Linked DNA regions of Homo sapiens: all the other regions are linked to region 7. Evidence: promoter capture Hi-C in 16 types of primary human blood cells and fetal thymus (Javierre and others, 2016). All regions are on one chromosome and are shown on one strand. The core of a region is centred on a gene start or on the middle of the fragment in contact, and the rest is flanking DNA. Distances in the headings are between cores, read along the strand shown.

Region 1 (3,635 bases), core at 339-2,838, 700 kb after region 7:
AGGAGACAAAACAAAAGGAAGATTAAAAACTGAGTAAAGGCCGGGCACAGTGGCTCACACCCAACACTTTGGGAGGCTGAGGCAGGCGGATCACGAGGTCAGGAGATCGAGACCATCCTGGCTAACACAGTGAAACCCCGTCTCTACTAAAAATACAAAAAAATTAGCCGAGGGTGGTGGGGGGCGCCTGTAGTCCCTGTTACTCGGGAGGCGGCTGAGGCAGGACAACGGCGTGAACCCGGGAGGCGGAGCTTGCCGTGAGCCCAGATCACGCCACTGCACTCCAGCCTGGGCGACAGAGCGAGACTCCATAAATAAATAAATAAATAAATAAATAAAATTAAAAAAAAAACAGTAAAAATCCCACGGCCGGGGAAATCAGGACCAAACCAGTAAGGAGCAGCTCTTTAGGCATAAGCACGCGCATTAAAGACAAAAAGTATCCTTAACATGATAAGGATAACCAGCTCATTAGCGCTCATGCATATGGACGGCATATCATGAATGGAGGCGGCTCTCAAGCACACAGGGGCCAAAGTAAGCAACACACCTATCATTCAAAAAGGTAGACACTGGCTAGATATTAGGCAGCCTTGGGAAGAGAAAAAAAGCCTGGCCAATAAGGTGAAACCCCATCTCTACTAAAAGTACAAAAATTAGCCGGGCGTGGTGGCGGGCGCCTGTAATCCCAGCTACTTACTCGGGAGGCTGAGGCAGGAGAATCGCTTGAACCCGGAAGGCGGAGGTTGCGGTGAGCCGGCACCGCGCCATTGCACTCCAGCCTGTGCAACAGAGCGAGACTACGTCTCAGAAAAAAAAAAAAAAAAAGACCCAAACTATACCAAGCTGGGGCTGATCTTATCTCGCAGAGGTCAGTCCGCTCTCCCCACTCCGAGAGTGGAATACTGTGCTTAATAAACTTGCAGCTTTGCCATCTCTGTGTGTCTGGTCCAAATCTTTCTTCAGGACACCAAGAGCCTGGAACTGTCCGGCACCATGCGGTAACAGCAGCTGTTGGGCAGCGTAGAGTCTACTCTAGGATCAAGCTTCGCCTACTGACTGGAGTCCGTATCCCGGGGGAACGCGATGGCCAGAGGGAAGAGGTGAGCCAAATGCTCACCAAGCCCAGCCCTGAATGAACCCAGGGGGTCAGAAGGGATGACTGCAGAACTCGTCCCCCACCCCCACCCTCCGCCCTTGCTCCTAGTTGCCGCTGCAAGAGGCTTCGGGCTCAGGATCAGGAGCTTACCCCTACTCCCGGGACCCTCTGGCGTCCCCACCATGTGACCGAGTCTCCCTGCAACAAACAATGACTTCAAACGAGCTGGGCGCCGGCGCCTGACCTCTGACTCTCGCTCCACGCCCCTTCCCTGGCCACAAACCCGCCGAGGCCCCCCTCTCTACCCGGCGCGCCTACCACAGGCGCGACACCTGTCAAGCCTTGGGACACCGAAACCGTACCTGGGAACAGCAAACACACCACAGACTGCAGACCCGGAAGAACTTGTCCCAGTGTTGACCACACCCCCTGGCTAGGGGCAGGGCTTCCGGCCTCGAACTTTAACTTCCGCTTCCGGTTCCTAGCGTTAACTGCGACCGGGGTTCAGCGCTCGGGTGAGGAGCTGGTGGCGTCGGCAGGTTCGAGGCGATTCGAGGTGAGGGGGTCAAGCGGAGAGGCTCGGAGTCGGAGAAAGCTGTCGCGACCCAGCCACCCAGGGTCTGGGGTCGGTGGGAGGTGAGGCCAGGGAGTTTTGTGGCAGGGCTTTCAGGCGGCGAGAAGGGGCGGAGGCGCGGCTCCCCGGGGTTCGCGGCCCTGGGACAGGGGACTTGGGGCCTGGGAGTATTCGAGTCCGGGGGGTTGGGGGCAGAACGGAAGGCTCAGTAACCTGGAATTTTAGGGCCTGGGACTGGGAGACTTGTAGGCTGGGGCTTCTGGGCCTGGGAGACGCCTGAAGCTCTGACTTTGCTGCCTCCCACCCACCCCCCGCTTTGTGTAGCTCCAGCTAGGATGATCGAGGTTGTTTGCAACGACCGTCTGGGGAAGAAGGTCCGCGTTAAATGCAAGTATCCACTGGCAGCCGAGAGGCAGTGGTACCCGCAGGGGTGCTTGGCGTGAGGCAGGCAACTCAATCTGTGTTGTCGGATGGTTTTAGTTAAACCCGGGAGAGGGGGCGGATGGGGTCCTGGCAGATGGTATTCTGCCCTAGAATGTCCTCTTCCTCGTTCTACCGCTTCCATTTGCCTTAACTGCTCTGCGCCCAGCACGGATGATACCATCGGGGACCTTAAGAAGCTGATTGCAGCCCAAACTGGTACCCGTTGGAACAAGATTGTCCTGAAGAAGTGGTGAGTGCAGCGGTAGAGCCACTGGGTGGACTGGACTAGGCCGGAAGGTTTTGGTTGGGGGAGCGCTGCAGGCAGCCCTTTGCTTAGGCTTGGCTACCTCATTTGGCCTACAGACTGAAGAGCCTCCTTAGCCTTATCTCTGAAATGTCTCTTTTTCTTAGGTACACGATTTTTAAGGACCACGTGTCTCTGGGGGACTGTATCCTTTGTGTGACTTTTTGAGGAAGCATCTACATACCCAGCCTCGGTTATCTGTTCAAAACTAAAGTCTGCATGAGCTTATGCATATTAAGTGTTTAACTTAATACGTGGCACATGGTGAGCACTTAGAAAATGGGAGCTAGGTAATTATTTGGTTGGGGAGGAGAGTGGTTGGTGAAATAGTTTGACTTCAAGTTCAAAATATTTATTACTGACCTCCACCTGAGTGCTGGACAGTAGGTCAGGGTGGGGTGAGACTCAGGCATATCTATTGTGCAAAAGGAGCAGAAACTTTTTACAATTTTTATTTTATTTATTTATTTTTTTGAGACAGTCTGGCTCTGTCGCCCAGGCTGGAGTGCAGTGGCACGATCTTGACCCACTGCAACCTCCACCTCCCGGGTTCAAGCAATTCTGCCTCAGCTTCCCAAGTAGCTGGGATTACAGGTGTGTGCCACCACTCCCTGCTAGTTTTTGTATTTTTAGTAGAGATGAGGTTCCACCATGTATGCCAGGCTAGTCTCAAACTCCTGGCCTCAAGTGATCCTCCCGCCTCGGCCTCCCAAAGTGCTGGGATTATAGCCGTGAGCCACTGTGCCTGGCCTAGAAGGAACAGAAACTTTTTTTTTTTTTTTTGAGATGGAGTTTTGCTCTTGTTGCCCAGGCTGGAGTGCAGTGGTACAATCTTGGCTCACTGCAGCCTCTACCTCCCAGGTTTAAGCGATTTTCCTGTCTCAGCCTTCCAAGTAGCTGGGATTACAGGTGCCCACCACCACACCCAGCTAACTTTTTGTATTTTTAGTAGAGACAGGGTTTCATCGTGTTGGCCAGGCTGGTCTCAAACTCCTGACGTCAAGTGAGCCACCTGCTTCGTCCTCTCAAAGTGCTGGGATTACAGGTGTGAGCCACTGCACCCAGCCAGAAATTCTTTTGTAAAGTTTTGGTTCTCTCCAAATAAAAATGGCCTGGTCCAAAATGGGCTTCCTTAGCCCTGGGCTGAGACCTCAGGCCACCTGACCCGGCTGTGAATGGATGAGAGGGGTGGGGACGGAAGTCAGAGTCAGGATTCCTTAACACCTTTCCTTCAG
Region 2 (3,578 bases), core at 215-2,714, 880 kb after region 7:
GTGGATGCCTAAGATTCCATGACCATGTGGATGTGTGAGCGTGGGAATGCGGCATAGTCCAATCAGGGATTAACCATATGGACAGGCACCTTCCTGGACTCCAAAGTAAGAAGTGTGCTGTGGTGTGTGTGTGTGTGTGTGTGTGTGTGTGTGTGTGTGTGTGTGTTGGGAGACTGAGCTCACCTTAGAAAGGGATTTCCAGGAGGACCTAGTCTAGGGTCTCTCAGATCAGGGAAGCCCCATCTCCAACACTTGAGAAGCTACGCCATCCCCTGACTCCCGAAGCGCCCCCCACTCTGAACCCTGAGGGGCGGGACAGGGCGCCCAGCCAGATGCGCGCAGCTGGGCGTGCGTCAGCGCTGACTCACCCATCCGGCGGCCCCCGGGACCCCTTGGGGGCTCCTGAGAAATTCCTCGGGAAAAACACCCAAGGCTCCAGCAGCTGGGGTGGGGAGGGGGGGAGCAACTTCCACTCCTGCCCCGCCCTGCGCCCCGCCCCGTCTCGCCCCTCACCGCGGCCCTCCCCGAAGCCCTGTCCATGGTGCTGATCGCGGCTCTGGGGACCGCGGGGTGGGGGAGGGGGCAACAGGGAGGGAGGGGAGGAGATGGGCGCTCGCCAATTTGGGGCAGAGGAGGAAAAGGGAGAATGAGGTGAAGCCATTTAAAGAGACGCAAAGGAAACTGTGGGTTCCCGAAGAGCACCCCCCAATACTTGTCCCCACCCACCTTCATCCTCATGGGCAATTATTTGCACCCAAAAATCATAACTACACCCCTCATAGCGGCACTCAGAGACACACAATCACACGCATAACCACTCACACGGTTACCCTCGAAAATCAGCACATAGACAAGAGCACAAGTGCATACTCACCTGTCGCAATACACACCGTCCCAGCACTGCCCTGTCACTCACAGTCACACTATCACCATCAACCTCCACACGCAAGCACATACGCAACTTCACTCCAAATGCACACACATGCTACACACACATACACACATGCACACACCTGCACATTGCATGCATTCCCACGCGCTCGCCAGAAAACGCACTCACACATCCCCACCCCCACCCCGAGCTGTCACACCCACAAATCACCCAGAGTCAGATACTCATGCGCCCACATCACACCGGGGCCGCACGCGGCGCCCACGCCCTTCCCCTCCACGCCCCTCCACCCCCCTCCACCCCTCGCTCTTTTAGAGCCTCTCTGAGTCGTGGACCCTGGGTCCCATCTCTTCCCTCCCGGCTCACCGGCCTGCGTCCCCGGCAGAAGCTGCAGCGCGGCCAGGAGCAGGCAGAGACCGGCCCGCGGCTGGCCCAGGTCCCGGCGGTTCCCCATCCCGGCGGGGCCCACGGGCAAGGCGGGGAACCAGTCGGGGCGGCTGCGGGGCGCGGCGACTTCTCGGGCTCGGTGCAGTCACTCGCGGCGGCCGCTCCTCTCAGGGTCCGCGGGAAACTGCCCGAGACCCCGCCCTGGCCTCGCCCTGCGCTCCAGCGCCTGGCCAGGCGGGGCTTTTTGGAGGGGGAGCGCTGACAGCTGGACTGGGAAGTTGGGAAACTTTGTGCTGAGGGCTGATTGGCTGGCTGGGGTGGAGCCCAGCGCCAGGAGCTGGGTTGTTCCTGCCCCACCCCACTGTGGAGGAGAAGGGTCACTCCCACCCAGCCCTAGAGTTCGAGGGTTCCAGTCTTACCCCAAACCTTTTCCGCCTAGCAGATCCCCTCAAAGGAGACCTTAACCTCATTCAAGACTTCAGCCTCCATCCAGGCCCTAGAATTAGGAGGAGGTGCAGCTTTATACCAAATCTTTTTTATTTTCTATTATTTTTACATTTTATTTTGGAGACAGGGTCTTGATCTGTCACCCAAGCTGGAGTGCAGTGGTGCAATCATAGCTCACTGCAGCCTCCAACTCCTGCGTTCAAGCCATCCACCTGCCTCAGCCTCCTGAGAAGCAGGTACCACAGGCACACACTGCCACACCCAGCTAATTTTAAAATATGTATATTTTGTAGAGACCGGGATCTTGCTATGCTGCCCAGGCCGGTCTTGAACTTCTGGTCTCAAGCGATCCTCCGGCCTTGCCCTCCCAAAGCGCTGGAGTTACAGGCATGAGCCACCGCCCCTGGCACCAAGTCCTTTCTGCCTCACTCAGGCCCCCAACTGGGGTCCCAACCTCACCCCGAACTCTCACTCACCTACCTGCTTTATCCTCAGTCCCTCAGCTGCACAATAGGAGGTACCAGCCTCAGCCCCAAAGCCTTTCCTTCAAGTCCCTAACGGGTCCTCATCCCACCTCAAATCTCACCCCAGATCCCAAAATGGGGTCCCCAGCCTTACTCCAAACCTTCATCTGTCCACTCAAATCCCTAAGTCACGTGTCCTGGTCCCAAATTCTCACCACAGATCCCAAAACACAGTTTTCACTTTCCCCAAATTCTTGATTCCTCAAATAAAGGGTCTCATCTCCATCCCTAACCCTCATCTCCCCCCGCCCCAACTCAGGTCTCCAGTGGATGCCCCGGCCTCAATCCCAAATCCCCACCAAATGAGGGAGTCTGAGCTGGGTGCGGTGGCTCATGCCTGTAATCCCAGCATTTTGAGAGGCTGGGGCGGGCAGATCGCTTGAGTCCAGGAGTTAGAGATCAGCTGGCCAACATGGCGAAACCCCATCTCTACTAAAAATACAAAAATTAGCCAGGCATTGTGACTGGCGCCTGTAGTCCCAGCTACTTGGGAGGCTGAGGTGGGAGGATCACTTGAACACGGGAGGTGGAGGTTGCAGTGAGCTGAGGTTGTGCCACTGCGATCCAGCCTGGACAACAGAGCAAGACTCTGTCTGTCTCAAAAAAAAAGGCCGGCGCGTTGGTGGGAGGTGGTGGGAATCTGTCCCTGTCGCAAAGCAACGCACAGCCACTGGGGAGGAAGGGGTGGATTCTTGCCATTCTTGGGATGAGGCAGAGGCCCCCCTCACCGTGCTGGGACCCCCACCTCCAGCATGAAGAGGCCCCCATGAGGTCAAATAGAGCTTTTATGCAATTGGACAAGCGCAGACACGCAGGATGTGAGGGTGTTTCCCCAGGGAGGGGAGGAACCAAGAGGCGTATTCTGAGCCCTGAACTGCTCCCCGAACCCTGCTTCCCCCACCTCCGCCCCAGGGGAAGAGGGAGACGCAAGCAGTGCCTCCCTCCCAGCCTCTGACTCCCCAGACAAAGAGTCTCTGTGTCCCTGAAGAGGAGGGGTTGGGGCCCCATCAAGCCTGAGGGGGAGATGGGGGCCCCCCAGGGTGGGAGGAGGAGAGGGTATCTCTGTAAGCTGTGCCTCCTCCCACCCCAGGGACATCTGAGGCTGAGACTTCTCCAACTAAAAGACTCTCACAAAATTCCTGCCCTGCCCTGCCTTGCTGGAAGTTCTTCCTATAGTCTAACTACATCTTCTGACAGTTCTACACCCCTTCCCTCTATGAAACACTTCTGGATCCACATTCTCTGTCTCCTTCTCTCACTCTCTCCCTTCAATCAGAGATTCTTCACCCAGAATACAGACACTAATTCCCCCCAACTTTCACAGAAAC
Region 3 (3,436 bases), core at 644-3,143, 550 kb after region 7:
TTCTGCGGTCTGACCCTAACCCACGGGGGAGAGACACAGAAGTAGGGACCCAGCGTTAGAAATAAAAACCCCTTCCCCTCCCTTATCTGGTGTACTCTCGCCATCACTCCATCCACGAGACTCACCCTTCTATAGAAATAAATTGCGTTGCTGAGAAAACTTTTGCCTGAGTGCTGGTTTCACTTTGCAGCACCCAGCGTTTTATTTTTTTATCTCCAACAGCTGGGATTACAGGGGCCCACCACCAAGCCCGGCTAATTTTTGTATTTTTAGTAGAGACAGGGTTTTACCATGTTGGCTAGGCTAGTCTGGATCTCCTGACCTCAGGTGATCCGCCTGCCTCTGCCTCCCAAAGTGCTGTGATTACAGGTGTGAGCCAGTGCATCTGGCCTGGCTTTAAGTAGAAAGGCTTGCAGCTGGTAACAATTAGAAAAAAAATAACCTGCAAGAAAATAAAAATTAAAAACTAAAGGCTTAGTCTACACGCGTTCATATTTACATACAAAAACGGGCACACCCTAAACAACTATGTTTTTTCCATCTGAATGTAATGTGTCAAAAATAAGTGGCGGGTGGATCACTTGAGGTCAGGAGTTCGAGACCAGCCTGGCCAACATGGTGAAACCCCATCTCTACCAAAAATATAAAAAATTAGCCAGGTGTGGTGGTGCACGCCTGGAATCCCAGCTACTCGGGAGGCTGAGGCAGGTGAATCATGTTATAAAGTTTTCATGCCACAAAAAAAAAGCACTCAAATATAACATTTTCTTTTCTCAGCAAGGCAATTTACTTCTACAGAAGGGTGTGCCCTCACAGATGGAGCAATGGTGAGCACACACCAGGACAAGGGAGGGGAAGGGGTTCTTATTCTTGAGGAAAGTGGCCCCTGCCGCTTTGTCCTTCCCCGATGGCTAGGGTTAGACCCCACAGGCTAAACTAATTCCAATTGGCTAATTTAAAGAGAGTGACAGGGTGAGTGGTTTGTTGGGGAAAATGGTTATAACAGAGCAGGAAATTGGAATGAGTCAGGGTGGAAAATGAGTCAGGGTGGAGTAAGTAATCGAAATAAGTCTGGGTGGAGCAGGTAATCAGAATGAGTCAGGGTGGAGCAGGTGATCGAAAAAGGTTGCTTTACGGAGAAGTTTAAAAGTAGAAGGCAAAGAATTAAACATACTGACATATTGATTTTTTAAAAAGAAATTTAAAACTCATATCTAACAATCACTTGAACCCGGGAGGTGAAAGTTGCAGTGAGCCAACATCGTGCCACTGCACTCCAGCGTGGGCGACAGAGTAAGACTCCAAATCAAAAAAAAAAAAAAAGTAAAGGACATCAAGACAACGCCAGATTCTCAGATGAGACATTTTTTAGCAAATAAATGGAAGTCACAGCCCTCTTGAAACCATTTTTCCGCCGTTGCTCACCAGGAACATGCCGGAAGAGATAGGTTCCAGACGCGGGAGAATGCGGGGCCAGAGCCAACCTCACCAGAAGGGCAGAAATCCTTTTCCTTTCGGAAAGAAAAAAACTCCCAAAGGTTGCTTTCCAAGCTTTTCAAGAGAGGAGCACAGCGGATGAAAGTACTCAAGAAAACACCCGGCGGAGGCGGAACAAACACACTTCCCGACGCAGCCAGACGGACTGTGCGGCCTCTCGGAACTGGCCAGAGGCCGCACCAGGAGGACTGACAGCCCCTAGAAAAGCGAGTGAAACTAGGCGGATCTGAGAGGCTCCTGGGCGACCACGCCCAATCCTTCCTTTGCCGCCCCGCTGGTATGTCCCGGACCCCCAAGCAGGTAGAACTCACCACAGCGGGGTGGACTCCACCACAATAAAGGTTAAACGGCACTGACCATGCTGAGCCACAGCCGGTAAAGATGGCGGTGGCACACTGACGTCACTTCCGCTCCGAGCCTCCGGCCGGGTGGGGCTCCAGGGCTTGAGTTTCAGGCACGTAGGACAAAGAAATTCTAGTTTCCTCCTGGGTGGGTGCCGGACAGTGCCTGGGGTTGGCTCAGGGAGCGGGATGCAGAAACGGGTTCAGAGAAAAAGATGAGTTTAGAACCGGACCTCTGGACGGAACCGTGGGCGAGGGGTGGGGCCCATATTTGGGGGCGGTTTAGAGGTGGGACCCGGCCTAGCCCGCGTTTCAGGTGCCCAGACGGGTTGGAAAGGCGGGGATGGGGGATGGGACGCACCCCAGAGGATGCTCCTCCAAAGCTTATCCTGGGCGGGCTCAGTGGCTCACGCCTGTAATTCCAGCACTTTGGGAGGCTAAGGCAGGTGGATAGCTTGAGTCCAAGAGTTCCAGACCAGCCTGAGTGAAATAGCAAGACCGTGTGTCTTTTTTTTTCTTTTCTTTTTTTTTTTTTTTTTTTTTTTGAGACAGAGTTTCACTCTTGTTGCCCAGGCCTGTGCCCGGCTCGACCCTGTCTCTATTAAAATATATATATAAGGCCAAGCGCCAGTGGTTCACGCCTGTAATCCCTGCACTTTGGGAAGCCAAGGCGGGCGGATCACCTGAGGTCGGGAGTTTGACACCAGCCTGGCCAACATGCTGAAACCCCGTCTCTACTAAAAATACAAAAAAATAGCTGGGTGTGGTGGCAGGCGCTTGTAATCCCAGCTACTCAGGAGGCTGAGGCAGGAGAATCGCTTGAACCCGGGAGGCGGAGGTTGCGGTGAGCCGAGGTTGCGCCACTGCACTCCAATCTGGGGGACAAGAGCGTGACTTCATCTCAAAAAGAAAAAATATATATATATGTGTGTGTGTGTGTGTGTGTGTGTGTGTGTGTGTGTGTGTCAAGCTTTTTTGTATGCCGCTCCTCATGTTCCTGGAGCCTTTCCATGATTCTTCCATATTAAACCTGCCAGTGATAGATGGCATGGTCTGTCTCTTCCATTCAGTCATTCTTTCTGTAGGCCTTTATTTTTTCTTTTTCTTTTTCTTTTTTTTTTTTTTTTGAGACGGAGTCTCTCTCTGTCCCCCAGGCTGGAGTGCAGTGGTGCAATCTCGGCTCACTGCAAGCTCCGCCTCCTGGGTTCACACCATTCTCCTGCCTAGCCTCCTAAGTAGCTGGGACTACAGGCGCCCGCGACCACAACCAGCTAATTTTTTTGTATTCTTAGTAGAGACGGGGTTTCACGGTGTTAGCCAAGATGATCCCCATCTCCTGACCTCATGATCCACCCGCCTCGGCCTCCCAAAGTGCTGGGATTACAGGCGTGAGCCACCGCGCCCAGCCTATTTTTTCATTCTTTATTTTATAGAACCTGCTGTTTCCATTGCGTTTTCTTTTTACTTTTTTTTTTTTTTTTTTTTTTTTTTGAGACTGGAGTCTCACTCTGTTGCCCGGGCTGGAGTGCAGTGGTGCAATCTCAGCTCACTGCAACCTCCGTCTCCTGGGTGCAAGTGATTCTCCTGCTTCAGCCTCC
Region 4 (3,382 bases), core at 1-2,500, 530 kb before region 7:
GATGTCCGGCTCACTGCCGGTCCCAGAGCAGAGAGCCCGGTGCTCCCTTCCTGGCTCGCGGTGGGTCTTCGTGCATCCCCTTGCGGGGCATGGCCTGTGACTTATACTCTCCCAATAAGCTCCATTTATGGAGCACTTTATACATGCCATATACCTCTTTAGGCAGTACTACCCCATCTTACTGGGAGAAAACCAAGCTTCAGACAGGTAAGGTCACACAGCTACTAAGGGAATAGCCTGGAGTTTAACCCAGCTCTTTAATTCAGAGTCTGTGCTCTAACGAACTTTGCAATTCAGTTCCTGGTGCCTTCTGAGTTTCTGGAAGGAAACGTGGGAACTGCTGAGGAATGAACAGGAAGGATTTGGGGTTCTTTTATGGGATGGGCAAAGTAGCCGAAGAGAAAGTGGTGGTTCTGAGAAATCGGCCTGGATGATGACTAGGCCAACGGCCTCATCTCTAGTTTTTTCCAGCTGTTGGTTCTCTTTGTTCCCCCATCTAAACTGGAGAAGCCCCCAACACTTTTAAGCTATGTGGAGGGGTGGGAGTTTGGGAGGGGACAATGCCGAGTTAGGTCTGTGTGGGACATGCCTCTCTTTCTCCAGGTGAAAAATCAGCCCCACCTTCTTCCCGTCTGAATCCTGGATGGGCTGAACTAGTCCCAGGGACTCACTCTGACTCTTAAAGTCCAGGTTAATATCCCTGGAGAAGCCCCAGTGAGTTCAGGTGAAGCAAAATCTCTGACCCTCTTGGCCCACATCCTAAGCAACCTCCCAGCGTCTTTCCTCTAAAAAGTAGGTGGTCCTCTCTGACCCTCTTGGCCCACATCCTAAGCAACCTCCCAGCGTCTTTCCTCTAAGAAGTAGGTGGTCCTTCTGTAATTATCAAGTGTAATCCCCGCTTTGAACCCAATTCTTGTAAGCTTTCCAGATGTGGGACTGGATCGATCAATGGCCACAGGAAAGGACCCTTCCTAGGTCAGCCCCTGAGAGATACCTGTACATATGTAAGAAGCTGGAAGAGTTGTTCTCAAATACATTCTCCCTCAAAGGTCCTCTAGAATCTCTGCCTTCTGCCTTATAGAGGACATTTCTCAGCTAAAAACTCAGACTGTGTCCTCTTGGCCATATCTAAAAATATCACATCAGTCCTGTCGCAATCCCACTTCTGACACCTCTTCAAGATAATGATTTCAGCTCTGCTTTTGTCCTCCTCTCCACAAGGAGGCACTGTGGCATATTTGAGTTGTGCAGAGACCTCAATTCTGCTACCAACTTGCAATATATTTCCCCTCTCTGGGCCTCAGTTTACTCATCTACAAGATGGGCAGCCTAATGCCTGTCTTGCCTATATAAATGGCTATGAGGCACGTGACAGGATAGATAAGAAAGGACTTGCACCAATGCCATTATGGGGTAACAATGACCACCACTATCTCTGGACCAGGCACCAGGCTGAACCCTTTACATATATTAACCAGTTCACATTTAGTAAATAAATCCCCCTTTGCCAAGATGGCCTGAAAGATGTTCCTTCAAAAACTAAAAGGAAGGCTCAATTCAACATATAGCCAGTGCCAGCCCAAGCTTGATATTTTGACAGCTCCTCCCCTCCCCTGCCCCTTTGTAAAATTTAGAGAGTCATGAGAGACCTGGATTTAAATCCCAGCTCTGTCATGGTCTCAAACTGTGGCCTTGGACAAGTCATCCTCCCTATGCTATGGCTCAGTCCCTTCCTCTGTAACGTGGGGGCTAGCAGGATTGTCAGGAGTTTAGATGGTGACACACAGCACATGCTTAGCCCATAGTGAGAGCTCAGTAAATGTCAGACACCATGATCATTGTTAGGATACCTGGGTCACAGCAGATGTTGAGGAGTAGCTTCAGAATTCTTTAGGAATTCCTTAGAGGGTGCTGCAGTTACCAGCTAAGTTAGGATGTTGGGGGGTGTCAAGGGTGGAATGTCAGTGAAATAGAAATTGTTCCAGGGTTTGTCTCTGTCTTGCAGTGGAATGAAGGGAGGGCAATTTGGCAGCTGCTTGCCCTCTGCTTTGCATTAACATGGCATCACAAAAACTCTGATCGTTTGAGTTGTGATAGTGTGAAGAACTGGGGCTGAACCTGGGCCCCTAGGGCTGAGACTGTGAGGAGCTTAGGGGTGCATTTAGGGAATCGAGGCAGGTGGGCAGAGGAGGAGCAGATCCTGGCTGAACCTTGGTGGCTGAAGCAGGAAGCCAGCAGGTCTTCAGCTTCCTGGGGGGAGCTGGGAGTGGAACCTCCTGCCCCCCAATGCCCTTCTCTATGCACGAATGGGGCTTTGGGAATCTAAACCTCAGGAAAGGGTGGGGAGAGGTCAGGAGGCTCAGAGCTCCTCCAGACAGGGAGTCCCTGGAAGGTTCTGTCTAGTTCTTTGCCAAGTAGGAAAGATGGCTCATCCCCAGGGAAATTATTTCCGTCAGGACTGGATGTTTAGTTAAAAACTGCCCCGTGAGAGGTCTTGAGACTTTGATCCTGCTGTAGCCCACAGGGGGTGTGATGTGCCAGACAGAAGCTGGCCCCCCAGCCCAGCCCTCAAATCAGGGGTCTGGAGAAGCAGGTGATCCCATTTTTGTTCCCAAGCACTGTCTGATTGCTTAGGACATTTTGCACACTCCATGCACCTCTGTCCTCCCAGGTCACCATGGGGGCTCACCTCACCCCCCTTCCCGGTTCTCCCACCCCCTCACTTCCCAGGTGGGTGCCCTGGTGGAGTTCCCTCCCCCAGCCCCAGCGGCCCCCTCCCCTCCCAGGAAGGAAAGCAGGAAGACTCTCTCTACCCCGTATTTACACTGACGCGATTTGACTCCATGCTGAAAGCGGCATTGCTCATCTGCATCGTAGGCTTGGCCCGGTGCCACTGTCGGGTACACAAAGTCCTGTCTGGGGGGCCGGTTGTTCAGGCAGAGCCCCAGGCCCGAGCTGCCTCGAGAGAAAAGCAACTGTCATGCTAGGTGGCTGCAAATCAAGAGCTCAGGAGCCTCAGCTGGATGGGGGTCCCAGGGAGCATCCCTGATTTCTATCGTCTCCCGTGTACCCTGCCCCACCATGAGTGTGACCCGCTCTGAGGGACACCCAGGTGCATCCTCACTCTAGAAAGCTGGTGATGTAGTCACGGCTGCAGGATGACCACACGAATGGGTTGGTCTTCATGGTAATGTGGGCAGCCATGAGCTTGGCTGGGTCCTGACCACGGGCCCCACAGCTGTTTCCCACGCCGTCATGGTTCATGCCGAATCTGGGGAAAGGGGTGTCGGCTCTGCCGGGCGCTGAGGGACCCGCCCAGCTCCTCCCCTCCTCCCCCTCTTGTGTGCCCTGGCCTCACGTGTGCCCGATCTCGTGGGCAATG
Region 5 (3,401 bases), core at 410-2,909, 680 kb after region 7:
GGGCGCCTGTAATCCCAGCTATTCTGGTGGCTGAGCCAGGAGAATCGCTTGAACCCGGGAGGTGGAGGTTGCAGTGAGCCGAGATGGTGCCATTGCACTCCAGGCTGGGCAACAAGAGCGAGACTCCATCTCAAAAAAGAAAAAAGAAAAAAAAAAAAAAGAACTTGGGTCTCCACAACCTCAAGCCTCCTCTCAAAAAAAGAAAAAAAGTTTTAATCTCCCTATAAGCTGGAATCCCCACTCCCACCCCACCCCAGCTCCCGGTTTGAGCTGTCCTGCCATTCTGGAACAAATGAATGTATTTCTTTTCCTTTTTTTTTTTTTTTTTTTTTGAGACGGTGTCTCGCTCTGTCACCCAGGCTGGAGTGCAGTGGTGCCATCTCCGCTCACTGCAACCTCCGCCTCCCTGGTTCAAGCGATTCTCCTGCCTCAGCCTCCTGAGTAGCTGGGATAACTGGCGCGTGCCACCACACCCGGCTAATTTTGTATTTTTAGTAGAGACGGGGTTTCACCATCTTGGTTAGGCTGGTCTCGAACTCTGACCTCATGTGATCCGCCCACCTCGGCCTACCAAAGGGCTGGGATTACAGGCGTGAGCCACCGCGCCCGGCCAATATATTTCTTAAATGTATTTGATTGAAGTCTCATGTCTCCCTAAAATGTACAAAACCAACTGCACCCCAGTCACCTTGGGCACATGTTCTCCTGGCCTCCTGAGGGCTGTATCACCGGCCATGGTCACTCATATTTGGCTCAGAATGAATCTCTTAAAATATTTTACAGAGTTTGACGCTTTTCGTCGACATTGCTTAGGCTGGCATCGAATTCCTGGGCTCAAGCTGTAATTGCCGGAGGGTTCTTCCTGCCCACTGCATAAAGAAAGACAATGGCATTGTAGTAAAGGAAGAGTTTAGTGGACATGAGGCTGGCCATGCCACGTGGGAGTCGAAGTTCCTACTCAAATCATCTCAAAGCTCCTAGGTTAGGGGTTTTCCAAAGACAGTTTGGGGGAACGGGTGGGGATGGCAGAGTAACAGGTGCTTGCTGCTGATTGGTTGGGGCAGATGCAATCATAGGGGGGTCGAAGCCTTCCTCCTACAGGCTGAATCGATTTTGGGTGGGGCCATAGGAGCAGGGTTGACGGGTCCATGAGGAGTGTTAGGTGTCAGACATGCAATAAAACCTGAAAGGGTATCTCCAAAGGCCAATCTGGGGTTCTGCAATAGTGGTGTTATTTGCAGGAGTAATTGGGGAAGTTGCATATCTCATAACCTCTGGAATAGTGGCTGACATACATTTCTGCGCCTTTGCAGGAATCAGGCTCCTCTCCTGCTGATGGCTCCCCATTAGTTTTACCAAAGCGATTGAGTTTTAGGCAAAGCTTATTATCACCTAAACTATAGCCTAAATGTTTCTTAAAGTTACCTCAGCCCAATAGCCCAGGAAATATTAAGGGAAAGGGAAGATGGGGGGTGGATTGGCTCAGATCTCTTTCACTGTCATAATTTTCTGATATATATTTTTTTGAGACAGGGTCTCACTCTGTTACCCAGGCTAGAGTGCAGAGGTGCAATCACAGCTCACTGCAGCCTCGACCTCCCCAGGCTCAAATGACCTGCCCATTCTGGAGTTCATTCAGCCTCACAAAATGTTGGAATTACAGGCGTGAGCCACCTCGACTGTCCTGATTATTATTTTTGCAAAGGCAATGGTTGACAAAGAGTCAAACTCTGTAAAATATTTGAAGAGATTTATTCTGAGCCAAATATGAGTGACCATGGCCCACGACACAGCCCTCAGGATGTCCTGAGAACATGTGACAAAAGTGGTTGGGGTGCAGCTTGGTTTTATATATTTTAGGGAGACATGAGACATCAATCAAACACATTTAATAAATACATTGGCTTGGTCCAGAAAAGCAGGACAACTCAAAGCAGGAAGCTTCCACGCTATAGGTAAATTTAAACTTTTTTTTTTTTTTTTTTTTTGAGATGGAGTTTCGCTCTTGTTGCCCAGGCTGGAGTGCAATGGTGTGAACTCGGCTCACCGCAACCTCCGCCTCCCAGGTGCAGGCGATTCTCCTGCCTCAGCCTCCCGAGTAGCTGGGATTACAGACATGTGCCACCACGTCCGGCTAATTTTGTATTTTTAGTAGAGACGGGGTTTCTCCATGTTGGTCAGGCTGGTCTCGAACTCCCGACCTCAGGTGATCCGCCTGCCTCTGCCTCCCAGTGTTGGGATTACAGGCGTGAGCCACCGCGCTCGGCCATATGTGCAATTTATTACATGTTAATTATACCTCAGTGAAGCTGTAGGGGCTGGGCATGGTGAGTAGTTCACACCTGTAATCCCAGCACTTTGGGAGGCTGTGGCAGGCAGATCGCTTGAGCCCAAAACTTTGAGACCAGCCTGGGCAATATGGTGAGACCCCATCTCTACAAAAAAAGAAAAATTAGCTGGGCATGGTGGCATGTGCCTATAGTCCCAGGTACTTGTGTGGCTGAGAGGGTAAGGAACACTACAGCCCTGGAGGTCAAGGCTGAGATGAGCCATGATGCGCTCTGGCCTGGGCAACAAAGCAAGACCCTGTCTCGAAAAAAAATTTTTTCTTTTTTTCCTAAAGAATGTGTAGGCCAAGTTAACCCTCCAGACAGGTAAGAATGTGATATGTGTCATAGCCTGTAATTTATACAATAACATCAAGGCTGCTTTGGTCCAAGGGCAGGATCTATGGCGAGTATATGTTCTTACACAAGAACAGTAAATAAAGTAGAAATCCTGGCTGGGTGCAGTGGCTCATGCCTGTAATCCCGGCACTTTGGGAGGCCAAGGTGGGCGGATGGCTTGAGCCCAAGAGTTCAAGACCAGCCTGGGCAACATGACGAAACCCTATGTCTTAAAACAAAAAACAAAAAAAAACAAAAAACCACCAGGCATGGTAGTGTGCACCTGTAGTCTCAATTACTTGGGAGGCTGAGGTGGGAGGATTGCTTCAACCCAGGTGAGGGAGGTTACAGTGAGTCGAGATTGGGCCAGTGCACTCCAGCCTGAGGGACAGAATAAGACTCTGTCTCAAAAAAAAAAAAAAAAAAGTAGGTGGGGCACAGTGGCTCATGCCTGTAATCCCAGCACTTTGGGAGGCCAAGGTGGGTGGATCACCTGAGGTCAGGAGTTTGAGACCAGCCTGACCAACATGGTGATACCCCATTTCTATTAAATACAAAAAATTAGCTGGGTATGGTGGTGGGCACCTGTAATCCCAGCTACTCAGAAGGCTGTGGCAGGAATCTCTTGAACCTTGGGGGCAGAGGTTGCAGTGAGCTAAGATTGCACCATTGCACTCCAACCTGGGCTACAAAAACAAAAACTCCGTCTCAAAAAAAAAAAAAAATCTAGAAATG
Region 6 (3,522 bases), core at 523-3,022, 750 kb after region 7:
GGCTGGAGTGCAGGGGCATGATCATAGCTCACTGCATCTTCAGCCTCCTAGGCTCAAGCAGTTCTCTTGCTTCAGCCTCCGGAGTAGCTGAGACCACAGGTGTGTGCCACCACACCCTGATACTTTTTTTATTTTTATTTTTGTTTTGAGATAGGGTCTTGCTCTGTCCCCCAGGCCGTGTCCCACATTGGTGTGATCATGGCTCACTGCAGCCTCAACCTCCCAGACTCGAGCAATCCTCCCACCTTAGCCTCCCAAGTAGCTGGGACTACCGATGTACACTATCATGCCCAGCTAATTTTTTTTTTTTTTTTTTTTTTTTTTTTTTTTTTTGTAGAGACAGGATCTCACTATGTTTCCCAAGCTAGTCTCGAACTCCTGACCTCAAGCGATCTTCCCATCTTGGTCTCCCAAAGCGCTGAAATTACAGGTGTGGGCCACCATGCCTACCTAATCAACTTTTACTTTTGGAATTATTTTAGGTTTACAGAAAAGTTACAACAATAATACAGAGAGCTCCTGTGTACCTCTCATCCTGACTTCCCTGTTATTACATCTTACATAACCATGATACACTTGTCACAACTAAGAAATCAACATCCGTGCATCCATTACTATTAACTAAACTCTAGACTTTATTCAAATTCCCCAGTTTTCCCACTTGAGTGCTTTTTCTGTTCCAGAATCTAATGCAGGATCCCACGTTACACTCAGTGGTTATCACATGTCTTTAGACTTATCTGGTCTATGACGTTTCTGTCTTGTTTTTTCTGACCTTGACAGTTTTGAGGATTACTGGCCAGGGAGTTTTGGAGAATGCCCCACTGGCCTTTTTTTTTTTTTTTTTAAGAGAGATGGGGGTCTCACTATGTTGCCCAGGCTAGACTCAAACTCCTGACCTTAAGTGACCCTCCCACCTAAGCCTCCCAAAGTGGTGGCATTACAGACATAAGCCATCATGCCCAGCCACCACCGGCTTTTATTTTATTTATTTATTTTTGAGATAGAGTCTCCCTCTGTCGCCCAGGCTGGGGTGCAGTGGAGCCATCTCGGCTCACTGCAACCTCTACCTCCTGGGTTCAAGCGATTCTCCTGCCTCAGCCTCCCAAGTAGCTGGGACTACAGGTGTGCACCACCATGCCTGGCTAACTTTTCTATTTTTAGTAGAGATGGGGTTTCACCATGTTGGCCAGGCTGGTCTCAAATTGCTGACCTCAAGTGATCCACCCACCCTGGCCTCCCAAAGTGCTGGGATTACAGGCATGAGCCACCGCACCCAGTCTTTTATTTTATTTTTTAGAGACAAGGTCTTGCTGTGTTGCCCAGACTGGTCTTGAACTCCTGAGCTCAAGTAATCCTCCTGCCTCGGCCTCACAAAGTGCTGGGATTACAGGCATGAGACACTGCACCCGTCCCCTAATGGCTTTTGAGGGCAGGAACTGTGGCCTCACTTTGCTGGACGTTTCCCCAGCCTGTAACCCAATGCAGTAGCTGCTTCAGACGCTTCCTAAATGAACAAATATTGAATGGCCATCACTGAGAGCTTTATCTTCCTGTGCTCCCTGTTCCGCAGGCATCCCTGCCAGAGGCTAGATCTAGAAGAGTTCACGGCGAAATAAAAGCTTTTCTCCTTTCAGAAAGATTTGTTTTTGATCCTTTCTTTGTAGACATCAAGGATTCATTTCTTTAATATTTAAGGGCTTTTGTACCAAAGAGAAGCAGCCGCATTTGCATCAGTCTCATTTTTTCAAGGCAGGCGAGAGAGATCTTTCTAGCAAGATGGGGTTTCTTCCTTCACGGAGCTGTCACTTGATTTATCTGCTTCTCCTTCCCCAGCCTTCATGCCTCTGGCAGGGGGCAGGGAAGAGCGAGGGTTCTGGAATGATCCACAGACTCTGATGTCCTCTCTGCCACAGCCCAAGGAAGCTTAATTAGAACCTCGCCAATTTGCTGGGACTGAGGTGGCCTTAGGAGCTGGTGCAGGGGCCTGGCCGGGGATGAAGATGAATTAGCAGCTTTTTTTTTTTTTTGAGACAGGCTGGAGTGCAGTGGCACGATCACGACTCACTGCAGCTTCGACTTCCCTGGCTCAGGTGATCCTCCCACCTCAGCCTCCCGGGTAGCTGGGACCACAGGCACTTACCAGCACATCTGGTTGTTTGTTGTTGTTGTTTTTCTTTTGTTTTTTGTTTGTTTTTTCTCACAGAGACAGGGTATCGCCCTGTCTCAAACTCCTGAGCTCAAGCAATCCTCCCACCTCGGCCTCCCCAAGGTGCTGGGATTACAGGTATGAGCCACTGCACCTGGCCTGAATTAGCAGTTTTATTTCCTGTCCCTCTGAATAGCTCAATAGCTACCACGGGGACCAAAAGCCTGCCTTGGGTACACAGAGCATGTCCCTTTTCTAACATTAGCTGGTCAGAAGTGGGAATCCCTTTAGCCATGCAGGCCTGCAGGTCTCACTGCTTTTTATTTCTCAGCCCCAGGAGGCCAAGCTGAAGGCAGAGAATCTAAAGAAGCTGTCTTCAGCGAGGTCATCTCCCCGCCACCGAGGTCCCTACTGCTGGGAGACACTGGCCCCAATTTAATCTCTTGCCTGAAGTTTTTCAGACGTAAAAATGAGCCTGGGTGAGCTTTTCAGATAGTTCCTTCAACTTACAGGAATTCAATTTCTGGCCTGGATATAAATTTGCAGCCATCAGCGCCCGTGGTAGGGGCTGGGGCTGGGCGCTTTGGCCGGGGATGGATTTCTGAAATCAATCCGTCCGCGTGTGGAAAAGGTCGCCATGGGGGACATTTAACTTCCATGGCTGGCTGAGGCATTTCACACCGATAGCCAGGGACACCCCTATACAAAATGGAAGTGTTTGCTGCGAGTCCCCCAGGCAGCGGCTGGAGGGAGGCCTCGAAGGCTGGACAGCACAGCCAGGAGGTGACATTGATCAACCTGCCAATAACAGACAGCCAGGTACCAGGACTCCTGAAAACCCACCTCCAAGGGCTCTTTCCTGCTAGGTCCCCATGCGCCCCTGCGGGTGGCAAGTCCACTCTGGGTCCAAACCCTTTATCCCTTGGCTACACCTCCAACACACATTCCAGGGTTTCAAAGAAATGAGTCTCAAATGCATTCAATTCCCCCAGTGGAGGTGGGAGGACGTGGTCATTAAGGGTCTCCTAGGTTCGAGCCTCAGGTCTGCCGTGTGACCTTGGGCTACTGACTTAACCATCCTGTGCCTCCGTTCCCCCAGTTAGAGTATATAGCTAAGAATAGTACTGATGTCATGAGGTGGTTGTTAATATATCAGAATGGCTTAACGTAATGTTATGGTTTGAATGTGTCCCCGCAAAATTCATGTGTTGGAAACGTAATCCATTTTATTTATTTATTTATTTAAAGTGAAAGCAAGTTTATTAGAGAAGTAAAGAAACAGAAGAATAGCTACTTCAGAGGCTGGGTGCGGTGGCTCACACCTGTAATCCCAACACTTTGGGAGGTCAAGGGGGGCAGATCACTTAAGGCCA
Region 7 (3,649 bases), core at 149-2,648:
TGAACCATCTGATCTCTGGTCTCATGTATTCAAAGACATTGGTCAGGTGGGGCACAGTGGCTCATGCCTGTAATCCCAGCACTTTGGGAGGCTGAGACGGGCAGATCACCTGAGGTCAGGAGTTCGAGACCATCCTGGCCAATGTGGTGAAACCCCGTCTCTATTAAAAATAGAAAAATTAGCTGGGCTTGGTGGCACGTGCCTGTAATCCCAGCTACTCCGGAGGCTGAAGCAGGAGAATCGCTTGAACCCAGGAGGCGGAGGTTGCAGTGAGCCAAGATTGCGTCACTACACTCCAGTCTGGTCAACAGAGCGAGACTCCATCTCAAAAAACAAACAAACAAACAAAAACAAAAACAAAAACAGAAAACCCCAAAGACATTAGTCAGGCTTTCAAGACTTCTCATTACTTCTTTCTCCCTGACATATCCCAGCAGTGTAAGCCCAAGAAGCTGAGACATCAATGGAAAGATGGTATCCTAGATATTAGTTTCCTCAAAGCCTTCAACATGTCCTTGTTTCTCAGGCTGTAAATGAGTGGGTTCAGCATGGGGGTGACCACGGTATACATCACTGATGCTATTGCACCCTTCCTGGAGGAGTGGGTAGCCCCAGAACTAAGGTACACCCCAAACCCTGTTCCATAAAACAAGGAAACAACGATTAAATGTGACCCGCAGATGGAAAAAGCTTTATACTTTCCACCAGCTGATGGAATTTTCATGACAGAGGAGACAATTCGTGTGTAAGAGAAAATGATCCCAGAGAGAGGAACAACACCTAACAGGCTGGTCACCAAATACACCAGGATGTTATTGATGAGGACATCAGAACAGGCGAGCTTGAGAATATGAGCTAGTTCACAGAAAAAGTGGGGAATTTCCAGGTCTATGCAGAAGGTCAGCTGTAGCACCATCAACGTGTGCAGCAGAGCATCCAGGACACTAACGATGAAGGACAGCAGAAGCAGCAGCCCACAGAGTTTGGGGTTCATGATGACATTGTACCTCAGTGGGTGACAGATGGCCACAAATCGATCATAGGCCATCATGACCAGAATTCCATTTTCCAATCCAACAAAAACCAGGACAAAGCAGATTTGGGTGAGGCAGCCTGTGTAATTGATGGATTGAGCCTGTGCCTGGATGTTCACCAGCATCTTGGGCATCGTGGTGGAGGTGAAACAGATGTCGACCAAGGACAGGATAGAGAGGAGGAAGTACATGGGGGTGTGGAGGTGGGAGTCAGAGTTGACGGCCAGGATGATGAGCAGGTTCCCCAGCATTGTGGCCAGGTACATGGACAGGAACAGCATGAAGAGGATGGGCTGCAGCTCCGGATCCCCTGACAATCCCAAGAGAAAGAATTCTGGAGTGTCTGAGAAGTTTCCTGCTTTCATGTTGTTGATGAGTCTTGATCTTGTCAATATTATCAAAACCAAACCAGTTATAAGTTATAGACCTTTTTTCCTTCCTTCCTTCCTTCTTTCTTTCTTTCTTCCTTCCTTCCTTCCTTTCTTTTTCTTTCTTTCTTTCTTTCTTTCTTTCTCTCTCTCCCTCTCTCTCTTTCTCTTTCTCTCTCTTTCTTTCTTTCTCTCTCTCCCTCCGTCTTTCTTTCTTTCTCTTTCTTTCTTTCTTCTTACTTTCTTTTTCTTTCCCTCCCTCCCTCTCTCCCTCCTCTTTCTTTTTCTCTTTCTCTTTCTTTCTTTTCTCTTTCCTTCTTTCTTTCTTTCTCCTTTTTCTTTCTTTCTTCCTTTCCTTTCTTTCTCTTTCTTTCTCTCTCTCCCTCCCTCCTTCCCTCCCTCTCTCCCTCCTCTTTTTCTCCTTCCTTCCTTCCCTCCTTCCCCCCTCTCTTTCTTTCTCTCTCTTTTCCTTCCTTCCTTCCTTTCTCTCTCTCTCTCTCTTTCTTTCCTTCCTTCCTTCCTTCCTCCCTTCCTTCCCTCCTTCTTTCTTTCCTTCTTTCTTCTTTGCAGGGTCTCTCTCTCTCTGTCATCCATGCTGGAGTGCAGTGGCATGATCATAGCTCACTGTAGCCTCATCCCCCTGGGCTCAAGCAATCCTCCTCTCTCAGCCTCCCAAATAGCTGGGATGACAGGCATGAACCCCCATGCCCAGCCTGTTCTTTACTTCCTTCCTAGGTACCCTATCAGTGTCTTTCTCACCCACCAATTTCCCTTTCTCATTACAGTTTGTGAAAATAAAAATTAAGCCCTCTTTATCTAGCAGCATAAGCCCCTCCCACTATTTTTATTTGCCTTCATCTGTCTTTCATTTGTATCACAGATAATGTTAATAAAGAAAATTTTAACAGTAAGCCATGCATCAGACCCTCTTTCCATTATTTTTTTCTTTTCTTTTTTTTTTTGAGATGGAGTCTCGCTCTGCTACCCAGGCTGGAGTGCAGTGGTGGGATCTCAGCTCACTGCAACCTCTTCCTCCAGGGTTTGAGTGATCCTCCTGCCTCAGCCTCCCAAGTAGCTGGAACTACAGGTGTGTGCCAACACACCTGGCTGATTTTTATACTTTTAACAGAGATAGGGTTTCACCATGTTGGCCAGGCTGGTCTTGAACTCCTGACTTGAAGTGATCCACCCGCCTCAGCCTCCTAAAGTGCTGGGATTACAGGCTTGAGCCACTGCACCCACTCTTCCTATTATTACTGGTGCAGCCCCTGGTTCAGGCAACCCCTGAGCCTTGGCACTGATTCCTGGAGGAGTCCTGTGTGAGTCAGCGCCAAACCTTTCCTGTTCCTTCTGGCTTATCCAGATTCTTGAGAAATTGATTCTGGGGCCCCCAAAGCAGGAAGTAAAGAATTGATGTATGCCGGCAATGTCAAAACATCAGCCTGCTGTTCTCATAAACCCATAAGTTAAGGAAATTCTGTAATGATGACTCAGGAGTTGGGGCAAACATATTATAGAATCACAGCATGTGAACAGTTGAATGGTGCAGTGAGCCCATCTCAGCCCTTTGCTTCACAAATTGAGTTCCTGGCCAGACACAGCGGCTCACACCTATAATCCCAGCACTTTGGGAGGCTGAGGCAGAAGGGTCGCTTGAGGCCAGGAGTTTGAGACCAGCCTGAACAAAGTAGCAAGACCCATCTATAGTAAACATTTTTTAAAAATTAAATTAAATTAAAAATTAGCCAGGCACGGTGGTACGTGTCTGTAGTCCCAGCAACTTGGGAGGCTGAGTTGGGAGGATCACTTGAACCCAGGAGTTGGAAGCTGCAGTGAGCTTTCATAGGGTCACTGCATGCCAGCCTGGGCAACAGAGCAAGACTCTGCCTCTTAAAACAAATACACAAACAAGCTGGGCGCGGCGGCTCAAGCCTGTAATCCCAGAACTTTGGAAGGCTGAGGCAGGCGGTTCACGAGGTCAGGAGATCAAAACCATCCTGGCTAACATGGTGAAACCCCGTCTCTACTAAAAATACAAAAAATTAGCCGGACGTGGTGGTGGGTGCCTGTAGCCCCAGCTACTCAGGAGGCTGAGGCAGGAGAATGGCGTGAACCCGGGAGGTGGAGCTTGCAGTGATCCGAGATCCTGCCACTGCACTCCAGCCTGGGCGACAGAGCGAAACTCTGTCTCAAACAAACAAACAAAAAACCAAATACACAAACAAAAACAAAATTCAGGCCCCCAAC

What was found. The method cuts DNA at HindIII sites, captures the fragments that hold promoters and counts their contacts. A CHiCAGO score of 5 or more calls a contact.
Region 1: the fragment with the promoter of UBL5 here is called in contact with the fragment with the promoter of OR7G3 in region 7 in 4 of 17 cell types (total B cells, neutrophils, M0 macrophages and 1 more); the score reaches 6.3 in total B cells.
Region 2: a contact is called between the fragment with the promoter of COL5A3 here and the fragment with the promoter of OR7G3 in region 7, in 1 of 17 cell types (total CD8 T cells). The highest score is 6.3, in total CD8 T cells.
Region 3: the fragment with the promoter of ZNF562 here is called in contact with the fragment with the promoter of OR7G3 in region 7 in 1 of 17 cell types (naive B cells); the score reaches 6.7 in naive B cells.
Region 4: a fragment that was not itself captured here is called in contact with the fragment with the promoter of OR7G3 in region 7 in 1 of 17 cell types (M0 macrophages); the score reaches 5.3 in M0 macrophages.
Region 5: a fragment that was not itself captured here is called in contact with the fragment with the promoter of OR7G3 in region 7 in 5 of 17 cell types (total B cells, monocytes, naive B cells and 2 more); the score reaches 8.7 in total B cells.
Region 6: a fragment that was not itself captured here is called in contact with the fragment with the promoter of OR7G3 in region 7 in 3 of 17 cell types (erythroblasts, naive B cells and total B cells); the score reaches 8.2 in erythroblasts.

What each region holds. Positions count from the first base shown.
Region 1 is chr19:9,826,330-9,829,964 of GRCh38, forward strand. UBL5 (ubiquitin like 5) reads left to right here and starts at 1,589. Exons shown (of 5, transcript NM_001048241.3): 1 at 1,589-1,655; 2 at 1,998-2,064; 3 at 2,263-2,346; 4 at 2,508-2,545. The coding sequence starts at 2,009. RefSeq lists enhancers at 1,171-1,895, 1,306-1,355 and a silencer at 1,399-1,705. The HindIII fragment of the contact is 5,434 bases long and covers 1,045-3,635 here.
Region 2 is chr19:10,009,040-10,012,617 of GRCh38, forward strand. COL5A3 (collagen type V alpha 3 chain) reads right to left here and starts at 1,465. Exons shown (of 67, transcript NM_015719.4): 1 at 1,259-1,465. The coding sequence starts at 1,346. The HindIII fragment of the contact is 8,603 bases long and covers 1-3,578 here.
Region 3 is chr19:9,673,207-9,676,642 of GRCh38, forward strand. It overlaps ZNF562 (zinc finger protein 562), which reads right to left and starts at 1,894. Exons shown (of 6, transcript NM_001130031.2): 1 at 1,809-1,894. RefSeq lists enhancers at 863-2,062, 1,601-2,100, 1,779-1,838, 2,101-3,100. The HindIII fragment of the contact is 670 bases long and covers 1,550-2,219 here.
Region 4 is chr19:8,592,949-8,596,330 of GRCh38, forward strand. It overlaps ADAMTS10 (ADAM metallopeptidase with thrombospondin type 1 motif 10), which reads right to left. Exons shown (of 26, transcript NM_030957.4): 10 at 3,359-3,382; 11 at 3,125-3,271; 12 at 2,814-2,955. Among named protein-coding and RNA genes, the nearest start is that of ADAMTS10, 16 kb to the right of the region's middle. The HindIII fragment of the contact is 664 bases long and covers 919-1,582 here.
Region 5 is chr19:9,802,594-9,805,994 of GRCh38, forward strand. No RefSeq gene overlaps it. Among named protein-coding and RNA genes, the nearest start is that of FBXL12, 15 kb to the right of the region's middle. The HindIII fragment of the contact is 560 bases long and covers 1,380-1,939 here.
Region 6 is chr19:9,873,499-9,877,020 of GRCh38, forward strand. All of the region lies in intron 1 of OLFM2 (olfactomedin 2), which reads right to left. Among named protein-coding and RNA genes, the nearest start is that of PIN1, 40 kb to the left of the region's middle. The HindIII fragment of the contact is 304 bases long and covers 1,621-1,924 here.
Region 7 is chr19:9,125,552-9,129,200 of GRCh38, forward strand. OR7G3 (olfactory receptor family 7 subfamily G member 3) reads right to left here and starts at 1,399. Exons shown (of 1, transcript NM_001001958.1): 1 at 461-1,399. The coding sequence starts at 1,399. The coding sequence ends at 461. The HindIII fragment of the contact is 3,002 bases long and covers 689-3,649 here.